Linked DNA regions of Homo sapiens: region 1 is linked to region 2. The links are contacts of gene promoters, found by promoter capture Hi-C in blood cells and fetal thymus (Javierre and others, 2016). All regions are on one chromosome and are shown on one strand. The core of a region is centred on a gene start or on the middle of the fragment in contact, and the rest is flanking DNA. Distances in the headings are between cores, read along the strand shown. Region 1 has its middle 25 kb from the start of MIR107. Region 2 holds the start of IFIT3 (interferon induced protein with tetratricopeptide repeats 3).

What was found. The method cuts DNA at HindIII sites, captures the fragments that hold promoters and counts their contacts. A CHiCAGO score of 5 or more calls a contact.
Region 1: a fragment that was not itself captured here is called in contact with the fragment with the promoter of IFIT3 in region 2 in 5 of 17 cell types (total CD8 T cells, non-activated CD4 T cells, total CD4 T cells and 2 more); the score reaches 7.8 in total CD8 T cells.

Annotation. Positions count from the first base shown.
Region 1 is chr10:89,563,813-89,571,302 of GRCh38, forward strand. No RefSeq gene overlaps it. Among named protein-coding and RNA genes, the nearest start is that of MIR107, 25 kb to the right of the region's middle. The HindIII fragment of the contact is 177 bases long and covers 4,407-4,583 here.
Region 2 is chr10:89,325,453-89,332,029 of GRCh38, forward strand. It overlaps IFIT3 (interferon induced protein with tetratricopeptide repeats 3), which reads left to right and starts at 2,545. Exons shown (of 2, transcript NM_001549.6): 1 at 2,545-2,626. The coding sequence starts at 2,622. It also overlaps a transcript of LIPA not described here. RefSeq lists enhancers at 2,313-2,552, 4,774-4,833 and a silencer at 2,873-2,922. The HindIII fragment of the contact is 8,842 bases long and covers 1-3,246 here.

The sequences.
Region 1 (7,490 bases), core at 3,245-5,744, 240 kb after region 2:
CCACCTCTTTGGTTTTATCTGTCAAAGAATGCCTACAGATGCTAATTTATTGGGCAACTTTAAAAATTGCCCAATTTTTAAATTTTTAAAAGTTTTAAATTTTTAATTTTCAAATTTAAATTTAAAATTAAAAATTTTTAATTTTCAAATTGAACTGATATAATTTCATAGTTTAGTTTGGTTAATTTCACTAACCAGTATGGGCAATGACCAGGAAATTCCCAGGAAAGTAATGCCATCTAGCGGTAAAATCAGGGCAGATGTAATATACCTGCAATAAATGACAAAATTACAGAACAATTACTCAGACATAAAAAGAAAGGCAACACTGACACCTGCTCAATGTGGATGAACCTTAAAAACATTGTTATAAGCAAAAGAAGCCAGACACAAAAAGTTACATAACATATGATTCCATTTACATGAAACATCCAGAATAGATAAATCCACCATGACAGAAAGCAGATTGGTGCTTGCCAGGGGCTGTGTGAAGGGGGAAATGTGGAGTCAATGCTAAAGGGCATGTTTTCTTTTGGGTGACAAAAAAGTTTTGAAAGTAGATGCTTTAAATGTTCTAGATGTTGTACGAGATTGTGAATGTACTAGATGCCACTGAATTGTTTGCTTTAAGCACAATAATTCTATAGGCACATTACTTTGTAATATTCATATTTACACAAAACATATAATAAACCATATTTGTCCTGCCGTATATTAACTAAGGCAATGTTCTAGGCACTACAAAAAAAAAGACAAAGCTGTAAAAATCAGTTTCTGTTTGTAAAATATGTAACTGAATGGCGAAAAGTTGTACATTTAAATAATAGTACTAGAAGGTAGAAGGTGGTAAGTGGCACAGAGGAGATAAAAGATAATTATTCTGGTCAACTGGAGATGGATGACAACACTTCACAGACGGGGTTCAGGAAGGGTGGTCACACAGGAAAGATTCCAGGAGAAGTGGTTTCTGATCTGGAGCTTAATGGTAAACAACACACCATGTGGAGAATCTCAGCTTAAATTTAAATGCCGAGGCATCAAGCCCAACAAACACAACAGTGTGCATCTTTCTGATGCCTGTTCTAGCAGTGAGATCCAGGCACCAGGCTGCCTGAGAGGCAGCACCCACCTCGAGGGCACTAGGCAAATCCCTGCAAGTGAATTCCCACCACGTTGCTTTGAGAGCTAGGGGTAATCTGTGGAGTCTTTCCATGCAGAAGAATTCAAAATGAATTGTGCAAGTCGGCGCCTAACTCCCTACTCCTTAAGTGTAAGCTGTGCGTAGTGACTTCCCTCCAAAGAACACAGTATGGAAAGAGGAGAAAAAATAGAAACTTTACTTTGGAGAAACTTGATAAATACTAACTCTGCCAGGTTGACAAGGTCAACATCATTAGTGATAAGTCAGCTTGATAGTTTGTACCCTTGACAAGTGACAAGAATGTCACTTCTGTGGTCTTCCTCCACAAAATTCATAAGTCTAACTTAATCATGAGAAAACATTAGACAAATCCCAACTGAGGGACATTCTACTAAATGCTTGCTCAGTACTTCTCAAAACTGTCAAAGTCATCAAAAACAAGAAAAGTCTGAGAAACTCTCACAGCCAAGAGGTGTCTAAGAAGACACGATAATTAAATGTACTGTGGTTTCCTGGATGAGATTTTGGAACAGAAAGAGGACATTAGGTAAAACCTACTGAAATTTGAATAAAGAATTCACTTTAGTTAATAATAATGTATTAAATTTTTCCATTAATTGCAACAAATATACCATGCTAATGTAAGATGGTCGAAGGAACTGGTGCAGCTTTTAAGGAACTCTACTATCTTCACATTTCTTTTCTAAATCTAAAACCGTTTTAAATAAACAATATTTCAAAAAATATATAAACACAAAATAAAAGCATAGATTTGTGTTAAATTCCATGCATTTAAAGAAATATAATTAACATAAAGAACACATATACCTAAGCCCATCTTAATTTCTTGGCATATAAAACCACTTTGTATTCACCTCCTAACCCTTTGTCCTCTCATAACCTTATCTTGAACTTCATATGCATTAATCCTATGTATATTATATATCCTATGTGTATTATATGTTTCCAATATGTAAGTATGTATCCATAACCATTTTATAAAGTATTACATATTTCCATGAATACCTATAACCGCAAGTGAATAGAAAAAATTTGGAAACATATTTGTTACACTGACAGCAGTGCTTACTTCAGGGAAGATGGAGAGTAGAATGAGTAAAGTGGAACTCTCCTTTGACATCTTATTACTGATATGTTTCAAGGACATTGCGTTATTTTACAACGTTTACATCGGCAAAACATAAATATAAAGAAACGTGGTTGGGTCACATCATCCTTCTGCTCCAAAAACCTTTTATAAGTTTTCTTCATCTTGCACAGTGCCCTGCAGCCAGAAACTCTCAATTAATGTTTACGCATGCCAAAATTTTATGAGCACTTACCTTAAGCATTCTTTCCTGCCCATTAATCCAGTGGTTCTTAACCCTGATTGCATATTACAATCACTTGAGGAGATTTTAAAAAACAAAAAAACAAAAAACAACAAAAAAAACATACTGACGACCTGGCTTCTCTCTCGACAAATTAATTGGAATCTCTGCAGGTAGGGTCAAGGGATCTGCATTTTCACAAGCCCCTCAAGTGGCTTCTATGCTCTTTAAAGGCCATATCACAGACCAAAAATTTAAGCAGGCTTAACTTACCACTTGACGGAAGCCATCTGGATGGTTCTTGGTCTCATTAGCAAAATAAGTATCCTGTGTTGTGAGAAAACTACTGATTGCCAAATGGAAATAACTGCTTGAAAAATTCAACAACGTTTATTTTTGTAGTAAATACAATCTTGTAGATAGAAAGCATGTGTCCAGGTAAAATATTTGTCAAGCCCTTTGAATTGTAGCAAGTGCTTAATAGGCTCTCAAGAAATATCTATTGGATGAATGGTTGAATAAATAAGTGAGCAAAAAATTTACCAGGGAACCCAAGTAAGCTAACGAAAGTCTAACTGATGGAAACATCATTTGTTCAAGATTTACTGAGTACCTACTATGTGCCAGGCCCTGTACTAAATCCTAGAGTCATTGAGTTTCCACTAAGACACACATTTTTTGGTTTTTAGTAGCTGAAATTGAGGAGAGAAATACTGGCAACATGCATATTGCCTGTAAACATTTCCCTATTCTTCTAATCTTTTTTTATGAGGAAAATGAATTGTCTTAGTATGGGAATATGCGCCAATACTGTCTCTAAAGAGTGAGAAAATAACATAAACATCCCAATGAGAGGATAGAATAGCTGAAAGAGGGTGGGAAGCTGGAAGAGAATGTCACGAAGCAGAATCCTAACATCTGACCTCCAGCCTGGGGTTAGATATTTGGCAGCTTACGCTCCCTCTCCTAAAGAGCTGTACATGTCTTTGGAGCATTAATTCTGAATTAGCATTCCAAGCTTTCTGTGTGCTTCACTAAGGACCAGGCAAAAGAGGATAAATTATATTTAAGTCCCCTCAAACTTCAAATCAGCAACATTTTAAGAAAATTCAAATAGACTACTTTTTTCATTAATATACAGTGACCGTGTGCTCCTGCCATCTATTTTAAATTACAAGTGCTACAATGGCTACATATTCTTAAAAAAATATTTGAACCAGCTGCCAAGATGAGGTTTTATTAATAGCACATTTTTTAATGCATATAGTTTTAAATTCAATATGTAACAGAAGTATGAAGATTTTCCAAAAGGCTAGAAAGCCTTTTTAAAGTAGAATGAAATGTAAAGGTCAGTTATAGGACTGTTTTGTTTCTTTACTAAAAACAGAAAACTTTCCCCTTCTTAATTATGCCAATTGACTTTTTTTAGTCAATGTGTGTTATGAATCACGATCATAACCTTGACTTGATTTAAACAGAAAAATGTGGTGTGGTCATATGATTAGAATGTTGTTTGTAATCCCACCCTTTTGTTAATTAAAATATCAACTTCCACTTTTGAGAGAAAAAATCTCGTCTTCTACCCTATCCCGTATCATTATCTTCAGGAAAGCAACAGTTATTGAAAATAAAGTAATGGGGCATGGAGGAAACAAAAAAAAGATAAATAATCACCAAACAGTGTTGACTTTCTGAAAGCAGAATATGCACCCCAAATTCTTAACAAATACCTCATTCTGTGGATCATATGAGTAACTAGCCATTAGAAGAGCCAGCTGTGACTTAAAAGAACTGAATCCTGGCTCAAGTGATGTGATTGGCTCAAATGTCAAAATCATTGAAGGATTTTTGGGTGCCCCATGTTGACTCTTTATTTAAGTATAACAAAGAAGTGTTAAGAGGTCATAATTGCAGGAAATACTATAATTAATAAAAGCTTACTTTCAATAGAGTTCTAATTATAATATGTGGCTATTATGTGGATATCCACATATTATTTGGATGGATATGGTAGAAATAGCAACCTATGAACACACGTTGCAGCTGAGTCCACAAAACAGCGATGTAGACATAGACATATGTATGTATCTTTCTGGTGAAATGATTTATAAAGCTTAAGTTTTCAAAACCTTATACTTTCAGAATATAGTGTATACAGAGCAAAACCAAAAAGTGGACTTAAAAAATTTACATTTCCACTTCATTATCACCTCATTTAGTAGGGAAAAAACACGTCTCTAGTTCTGGATAAATAAAATGACCATAGGGAGAAAAATTTTAGCAATTACATGGTATAAGTGGAAGAAGATATATTTAATAATCTTTCATATAATATGGTACAGGTCCTCCAAAGTAATATGGTTTCAGGATATAGATATATCCTGATATTCATCTAGATATTTGCGCATTTATAGAGCTTTATAAAGAAGCCTAAATATCTAGATGAATAAGTGATTTTTTAGTCATCTGGGAATTTCGACATTTCAGAACCTGAAGAATTTAAAATAACCCCTCTCCTATTTTCAATTCAATTCATGGCGAGCACTACTAATTTTAAAAAAGAAATAATGATTTTTCTATTACTTTTATTTTGAAATTTTGGAGAAATGTAAAAATATTTCTTAAGATAATGAGAGGGACTTGGATTCTCCCAACGCAGAGATAGATCTGGGGAATCAACACAAAGCTAGGCTCATGAGAGCTGTTGAATACGTACCTGTTGAATTTAGTAGGCCTTTCATTGGATGGAGATTAACAAACAAGGGTTCAGCTTAATTTCTGTCATGGAGTCCTTTATAAACATGTTTTCTACCTATTAGAACAGAGGTCCCCAACCCCTGGGCTGTGGACCAGTAACAGTCTGTGGCCTGTTAGGAACTGGGCCCCACAGCAGAAGGTGAGCAGCAGGCAAGTGGGTATTACCACCTGAGCTCTGCCTCCTGTCAGATCAGCAGTGGCATTACATTCTTATAGGAGCACAAACCCTACTGTGAACTGCACATATGAGGGATCTAGGTTGCACGCTCCTTATGGAGACTCTCTAATGCATGATGAACTGAGGTGGAACAGTTTCATCCTGAAGCAATCTTCCCCCACCATCCACCCCATCCATGGAATAATTGTCTTCCACGAAACTGGTCCCTGGTGCCAAAAAGGTTGGGGAACACTTTGAAACTGTGTTTTTTGGTCATAGATTTTTGTTGCTGTTCTTGTTGGAGATAATTTGGAGATTCCTAGATGAAAAAGAGTTACATGATTGCAAGATAACAACTGCTTGTTTCTCATAGCCCAAAATAATTATACAACAGTGCCTCTGCCATTCAGCATTCAATATAATCGTCTATTTGGAAGAAATGGTAACATTTTCTTTTCAAATTGTCCTTAAAATTTCCACTGTGGGTCAGGTGCAGTGGCTCATGCCTGTAATCCCATCATTTTGGGAGGCCAGGCCAGAAGGATTCCTTGAGGCCAGGAGTTGGAGACTGGGCAATATAGTGATATCCTCACCTCTATGAAAAATAAAAATAAAAAATTCAGCCAGGTATGATGGTGTGTGTCTGAGTCCCTGCGACTTAGGAGGCTGAAGCAGGAGGATTGCTTGAGCCCAGGAGTTTGAGGCTGCAGTAAGATGTGATTACACTACTGGACTCCATCTAGCCTGGGCAACAGGGTGAGATTTATCTCTTAAAAAAAAAAGTCTACTGTCGTTGCTGGGCACTTCAAAAATTCAGCCCGTAGTGTGTGCTTGTAGTCCCAGCTACTTGGGAGGCTGAAGTAGGAGGATTGCTTGAGCCCCAGGAGTTCAAAGCCAGTCTGGGCAACATAGCAAGATCTTATCTCTAGAAAAAAAATTTAATGCAAAATGTTTATTTCAGCAACCGGAGATAATAGCAGCAGTAAATTTAGGCTGATGTTATGAAGATGTCCTGTGTCACTTCTATACTTGGAAGGAGAAAAGTGGCTCACCTGAAATGAACTCCAGACAATCTCAGAGAAACTGCCCCGTTACGAGATTCTTTCTCTCCTGCAAACTAAACTCAGCATATTGCCTTCCTCATGCCAAAGAAAGTACAGAATATTAGAAAAATGTGGGAGTAGAACAGAAACTGAAAACTAGACTACAAAAGCGTGCTGGCAAAATCAGTTTCAACATAATGTGAGGGACACATTTGCCTCTATTGTCTTAAGGGGCTTTAGTTATCATGCTGCACACATAGTTGAATGACACCTATGAGGTGCAATCATTTTGAACCTAGAGACAGCAGTTGGAGTGGTTTAGTCAGTAGTTGATCAGCGCATAGTGCTGGTTTCTGCCAATTGGGCATGGCCTGCCAAAGAATCAGGAGGGGTTATTTTAAGTGTGTATATACTTTTTAACGCTGGTAGTGATATATCCTTTAAGATAGGCATGGGTCTTCACAATAGACTCAAGTATTTCTACCTAGACAAATTGTAACTGTTTAAGGATTATGTAGGGAGGTTTATTTAAAAATGCTTTTGGGGCCCCACTATAAGAGATGGATTCAGTGAGTCAGGGGAAATGCTCCCAAAGAGGCATTTTAAACAAACTCTCCAGGTTATTCTAAGGCAGGTGGGCCTAAGCTACACTTTAAGACATTCTGTATTAGAAGCATCTCCCTGAATAAACGCCACTTGAATCTGAGACGCTAGGGTTAAGCAATCATGTTGGGCTAAATTATTAAGAACATAGGATTCTATTTAAAAAGGAAAGCTATCTTTACTTACACCATTTCCAGGGATTAAAAAAATTGAGCAGGAATAAAAACAACCCAACTTTTCTTAAAACAACCTTTAAGGATGGCAATGAATTTAGGAGACAAGTTTCTCATAATATAAGTTATAATGAGGCCAAATTGATAGGTTATTTAAAATATTAATTAGTTCTTGAAAGCAGGTTTACGTTCTGAAACCAAAAATTGTATTACCCTTACATTTTTTTATTTTTTTAGATGGAGTCTCACTCTGTCACCCAGGCTGGAGTGTGCAGTGTGCATTGT
Region 2 (6,577 bases), core at 1,295-3,794:
ATGGACTCAACCTAAATGCCCATCAACAGAAGACAGGATAAGGGAAATGTGGTACATATACACCATGGACTACTATGCAGCCACAAAAAAAAGAATATCATGTCCTTTGCAGTAATGTGAATGGAACTGGAGGCCATTATCCTAAGTAAACTAATGCAGGAAGAGAAAACCAAATACTGCATGTTCTCACTTATAAGTGGGAACTGAACATTATGGACACAAAGAGGGGAACAACAGACACTGGGGCCTACTTGAGGGTAAAGAATGGGTGAAGAGAGAGGACTGAAAAACTACCTATCATGTACTATGCTTATGAGTGGGGTGACTAAATAATCTGTACACTAAAGCCTCATGACATGCAATTTACCTAAATAACAAACCTGTACGTGTATACCTGCACATAAAATATAAGTTAAAAAAAAACCTACAATGAGATATGATCTTACCCTGGTTAAAATTGCTTTTATCCAAAAGACAGGCAATAACAAATGCTGGCAAGGATGTGGAAAAAAGGAAACTCTTGTACACTGTTGGTGGGAATGTAAACTATTATAACTACTATGGATAACAGTTCGGAGGTTCCTCAAAAGACTAAAAATAGAACTACCATATGATCCAGTAATCCCACTGCCAGGAATACATCAAAAAGAAAGGAAATCAGTACATCAAAGAGATATCTGCACTCCCATGTTTATTGCAGCACTATTCACAATAGCCAAGATTTGGAAGCAACCTAAGTGTCCATCAGCAGAAGAATGGATACAGAAAATGTGGTACATTTACACAACGGAGTGCTCTTTAGCCATAAAAAGAATGAGATCCTGTCATTTGCAACAACATGGATAGAAGTGGAGGTCATTATAAGTGAATTAAGCCAGGCACAGAAAGACAAATTTTACATATTCTCACTTGTTTGTGGAAGCTAAAAATATTAAGACAATTGAACTTATGGAGATAGAGATTAGAATGATGATTACTAGAGGCTGGGAAGAGTAGTAGCGGGGGAAGTGGGGATGGTTAATGGGTACAAAAATATACTTAGATAGAATTAATAAGATCTAGTGTTTGTTAGAACAAGAGGATGACTATAGTCAACAATAGTTTATTGCACATTTCAAAATAACTAAAAGAGTATAATTGGATTGTTTGTAATACAAAGAATAAATGCTTGAAGTCATTTACCCTGATGTGATTATTACTCATTGTATGCTCGCATCAAATATCTCATGTACCCCATAAATATATATATCTACTATGTGTCCACAAAAAATTTTTAAAAATAATAAGAATTGGCTTAAAAAATGCTGTTTCCTGGGCCCCACCCTAGACTGATGGTCAGATACCTAATGTTGACAAAAAAAGTCAAACTCTGTAAAACATTTGAAGAGATTTATTCTAAGCCAAATATGAATGACCTATGGCCTGTGACACAGCCCTCAGGAGATCCTGAGAACATGTGCCAGGCCACAACTTGGTTTTATACATTTTAGGGAGACATAAGGCATCAATCAATACATGTAAGGTGTACATTGGCTAGGTCCAGAAAGGTGGGACAATTGGAAACAGGGAAGCGGGGCAGCTTCCAAGTCATAGGCAGATTCAAAGATTTTCTGATTGACAATTTGTTGAAAGAGTTATTATCAATAGAAAGGAATGTTTGGAGACATCCAATAGAAATTCAATAGACAATCATTAGAAAGGAATGTCTGGGTCGTGGAGACCAAGGTTTTATTATGCAGATGAAGCCTCCAAGTAGCAGGCTTCAGAGAGAATAGGTTGTAAATGTTTCTTAATACACTTAAAAAGAGCATGTTCTGGCTGGGTGCAGTGGCTCATGCCTGTAATCCCAGCACTTTGGGAGGCCAAGGTGGTTGGATCACCTGCTATCAGGAGTTCAAGACCAGCCTGACCAACATGGCGAAACCTCGTCTCTACTAAAAATACAAATATTAGCCGGGCATGGTGGTGGGTGCCTGTAATCCCAGCTACTCGGGAGGCTGAGGCAAGAGAATCACTTGAACCCAGGAGGCAGAGGTTGCAGTGAGACGCAATCATGCCACTGCATTCCAGCCTGGGCAACAGAGTAAGACTCTGTCTCAAAAAAAAACAAAAACAAAAACAAAAAAAGAGTGTGTTCTATTAGTAATTCCAAAAGGAAAAAGGATGTAATGAGGCATATCCAGCTTCCCCTTCACATCAGTTTTCAGGTTAACTTTGGAATGCCCTTGGCCAAAAGCAGGGGTCCAGTCACATGGTTGGTGAGTATGGCCTTAGAATTTAATTTTTTGGTTTACATTAGGAATGCTTCCACATTCTCTCAAACAAATTTTAGTCACAGTTTTGAATAACGTACTCTGGCTCAGCCATTGCAGGTCTCAAGCCGTTAGGTTTCATTTTCCTCCTCCCAACGATTTTAAATTAGTTTCACTTTCCAGTTTCCTCTTCCTTCCCCTAAAAGCAATTACTCAAAAACGGAGAAAACATCAGCTGATGCGTGCCCTACTCTCCCACCCCTTTATATAGTTCCTTCAGTATTTACTTGAGGCAGACAGGAAGACTTCTGAAGAACAAATCAGCCTGGTCACCAGCTTTTCGGAACAGCAGAGACACAGAGGGCAGTCATGAGGTCAGTGAAATAAGAATGCATAATCATGCTTGTTTTTGAGTGCAAATTGTAAGTTGAGTTTCTTACTGTGCAGGCACATTCCTGAATTGTCCTGATGTTTATAGATTCAATATGTCTTTATCAGTCTGAGCATTTGTAAGATGTTTGAGGGGTTTTTCCCTGTGGCTTTTTTTGGTGTACACACAGGCTTCTTAAGTTTCTGGAATGGTTCCCTACGGAACTACATGGGGGGAGGCAGGGTGGGGAATGCATCAGCTCATGTTTCCTCCCTGTGTGCAGCTATTTCCTGCAATGAGAGGAAGGCTTGGCAGGAGCGGTGTATTTCACTCAGCCACAAACTTGGCTGATTCAAGGGTAGACCTAAGGGAATTACTCTTTTGGGTTTTTCTGTTATTGTCATTTTGTTTGAAAAGATTAAGTCACAGGCTTTTTTTCTTGTAATTTTAAAAGGAGGAATTTATTTTCAACAGATATTGTGAAAGATACAATCAGTACTGCAAACCCACTCATGAAGAAGGCAATTTTGCCCTGAAACGTTGCATTACTTTAAGGTGGGAAGTGGAAGAAACAATTCTTACAAATGGGCATTTTTGTCATTTCTTATATAAAAACAAACCCAAAGCTTAGCATTTATTTTTATTGATGTAGTGAATGCTGGTCAGCAGCAAAAAAAGAATTTCTCCTCAAAAGTGTAATGACCTAATCTATTATCTAAAACTAGTCTAATCTCTAATGGTGGGAAGCAGATCAGTGGTTGCCTGGAGATGGTGGGGATTGAGTAGGAAGGCTCCCAAAAGAATCTTTTTAGAATCATAGGAATAGTCTATAGGGAGGTAGTGATGGTGGCTACATATGCATAAACATTTACCAAAACTCATCAGACTATACACTGAAAATGGGTGCATCTTATTGTATATAAAGCATAATCTCAGTAAACTTGATTTTTAAATTTATATATTGACCTCCTGGAGTTCTTCAGGGGATAGCATGTTAGGGAGAACTAAGAGAAAAGGATGCCTTTCCCACCAAGCATCTCTAGGAAAGGAGTGAGGAGGTGATTGCCAGGGAGGGAAGACCCCATCGACCATTCAGGGGGGCAGAAAAGGAAAACTGGATTCCCTACCTTACTCTGCCCCAAGGACTTGAAGATGCTCTGCAATGTCATGTTTGGGGATGAGATGGGTAAGAGGAATTCACTGCCAAATACCTCAGTATATAGAATACCCTTTTATATAGAATAAGTTCCTGGTCAAGAGTGATGTTAATTGTGTCTGTGTGAGTGGGATTGACCAGAGAGCAAGGCGTCTTAGTAGCCAGCTTGCAGGAAAGGTTTTACAGGGTCCTGTCTTTAGGTGTGTCTATAGCCACTGACCTGAGGAGGTCTGAGGGGGGCTCTCTGAACTATGCTGGACTCAGGTTCACATCAAGGTGCTCCTATTTCCAGAGGCTATAGGAACAGGAAGAGATTGGGCTGCTCCTCCCCAGTTGTGCTAAAAATTTCCAAATGGGAAAATCACCTGGAGAACTCACTGGCACGTGCCAGCTGATGGGCATCCTCCTCTGCCCCATCCACTGAGGAACTCTGTTGCTCCCTTTACACACTCACAAATTCACTTAAAATTATAACACAAATATATTAGTACCAGCAATCATGGTGGTAACATTTCTTTGTGATCTGTAGTTAGTGGTTTCATGCAAGTCCGTGTGAAGAGACCACCAAACAGGCTTTGTGTGAGCAACAAGGCTGTTTATTTCACCTGGGTGCAGGTGGGCTGAGTCCGAAAAGAAAGTCAGGGAAGGGAGATAGGGGTGGGGCCATTTTATAAGATTTGGGTAGGTAAAGGAAAATTACTGTCAAAGGGGGGTTGTTCTCTGGTGGGCAGGTGTGGGGGTCACAAGGTGCTCAGTAGGGGAGCTTTTGAGCCAGGATGAGCCAGGAGAAGGAATTTCACAAGATAATGTCATCGGTTAAGGCAGGAACAGGCCATTTTCACTTCTTTTGTGGTGGAATGTCATCAGTTAAGGCAGGAACTGGCCATCTGGATGTGTACATGCAGGTCACAGGATATGATGGCTTAGCTTGGGCTCAGAGGCCTGACAAGTGGGCACTGTGTTAAACACGTTTTACGCATGACCTCATATCACCCTTCCAACAGCCCTAGGAAGTAAGAGCTATTATTTCTATTATTAGCCTCATTTTCTAGATGACCAAAATGGGGCTTAGAAGGGCAAATTACTTGCCCAAGACATCAGATAGAGAGCAGGTGTCAGAGCAGAGTCATTAATGGAGGCACCAAACTCTACTGCTGATCATCTGACTCTATGCCCAATGGCCAAAAGGTGAAAGATCTTAATGCTTTCAACTATGCTCACTTTAGAGAGGGGGCCAGGGATGGGCTTCCTATCTGGAGAGTAAGGGCCAGCCTTTGATGGTTACCCATGCCTTAGAGTGGCCAAAGCCACAAGAACTGAACCCAGATCTTGGAGAAGGGTGAAAGTGGTTCTCCCCAGGGCATAATTTTCTATCATTTGGATGAAGGGAAAAGGAAATTCATCCTAGGGCATTTTAAGGATAAGGGAATGAGGCTCAGTGATATGACTCAAGAAATATCCCAGAACTAAGCAAAGAGGTCACTGAAATCCAGGTGTCCTGTGGTTTTCTTCCCTTCACTCAAGATGCCTGATAATGCTGCTTAATTCACCACATTAGCTCCATAAATAAAGGGGAAAACTGCTTTTTAAAATACCTCTATGACAGCACTTCTCAAAATGTGGTACAGGAACTCCTGCACTGAATTTCCAAGGCACTTGTGAAAACACAGGTTTCTAAGCTCACATCAGATTCACTGCACCAGAATCTCTGGGAGTAGGACTGCATAGTCAGTACTGTCAATATACAATAATCAGAAGGCTCAGGATCCAGTTAAAAGAGTTTATTCAACAAAAAGTTGAGGGCAGCAGTCCCAGGAGTAGAGCTGCACCCAAGAATGGTGAACAGTACTTCCAGTGTAGAGAAAAATGAGGACTGTTTACATAGGCAAAGACAGAGGTGTTCAACAGAATGACAACTTCTCTTGTTGTTGTTGTTTTTGTTGTTGCTGTTGTTGTTTTTGAGACAGAGTCTCACTCTGTCACCCAGGCTGGAGTGCAGTGGCCCGATCATGGCTCACTGCAGCCTCAGACTCCTGGGCTCAAGGGATTCTCCCACCCAGCCTCCCAAGTAGCTGGGACTATAGGAGCACGCCACTATGCCTGGTTAATTTTTTTGTATTTTAGTAGCAATGGGGTTTTGCCATGTTGGTCAGGTTGGTCTTGAACTCCTGACCTTAAGTGATGCACCCACCTTGGCCTCCCAAAGTGCTGAGATTACAGGCGTGAGCCTCCGTGCCTGGCCAACATTTTCCATACAGAGGCTAACATACAGATATACAATTTGATTGGCTACTATTGATTACAGTCCAAGGGAATTGCTTAATATTCTTTTGTAAAGAGGTAACATGGCTGGCCGCAGTGGCTCACACCCATAAGCCCAACACTTTGGGAGGCCGAGGAGGGCAGATGCTTGAGCTCAGGAGTTGGAGACCAGCCTGGGCAACATAGTGAGACCCCGTCTGTACTAAAAATACAAAAATCAGCCAGGCGTGGTGGCACGTGCCTATAGTCTCATTGACTGGAGAGGCTGAGATGGGAGGATCGCTTGAGCCTGGGAGGCAGAGGTTGCAGTAAGCTGAGATCGTGCTACTGCACTCCAGCCTGGATGACAGAGTGAGATCCTGTCTCAAAAAAAAAAAAAAAAAAAAAAAGTAACAATCAAAAGGGTCTCTATTTCCATAACATGAGGTCTACGTTTTAATAAAGACTAGGTTGTCTGAGGCCGGGCACGGTGGTGCAAGGCTATAATCCCAGCACTTTGGGAGGCCAAGGCGGGCAGATCATGAGGTCAGGAGTTCG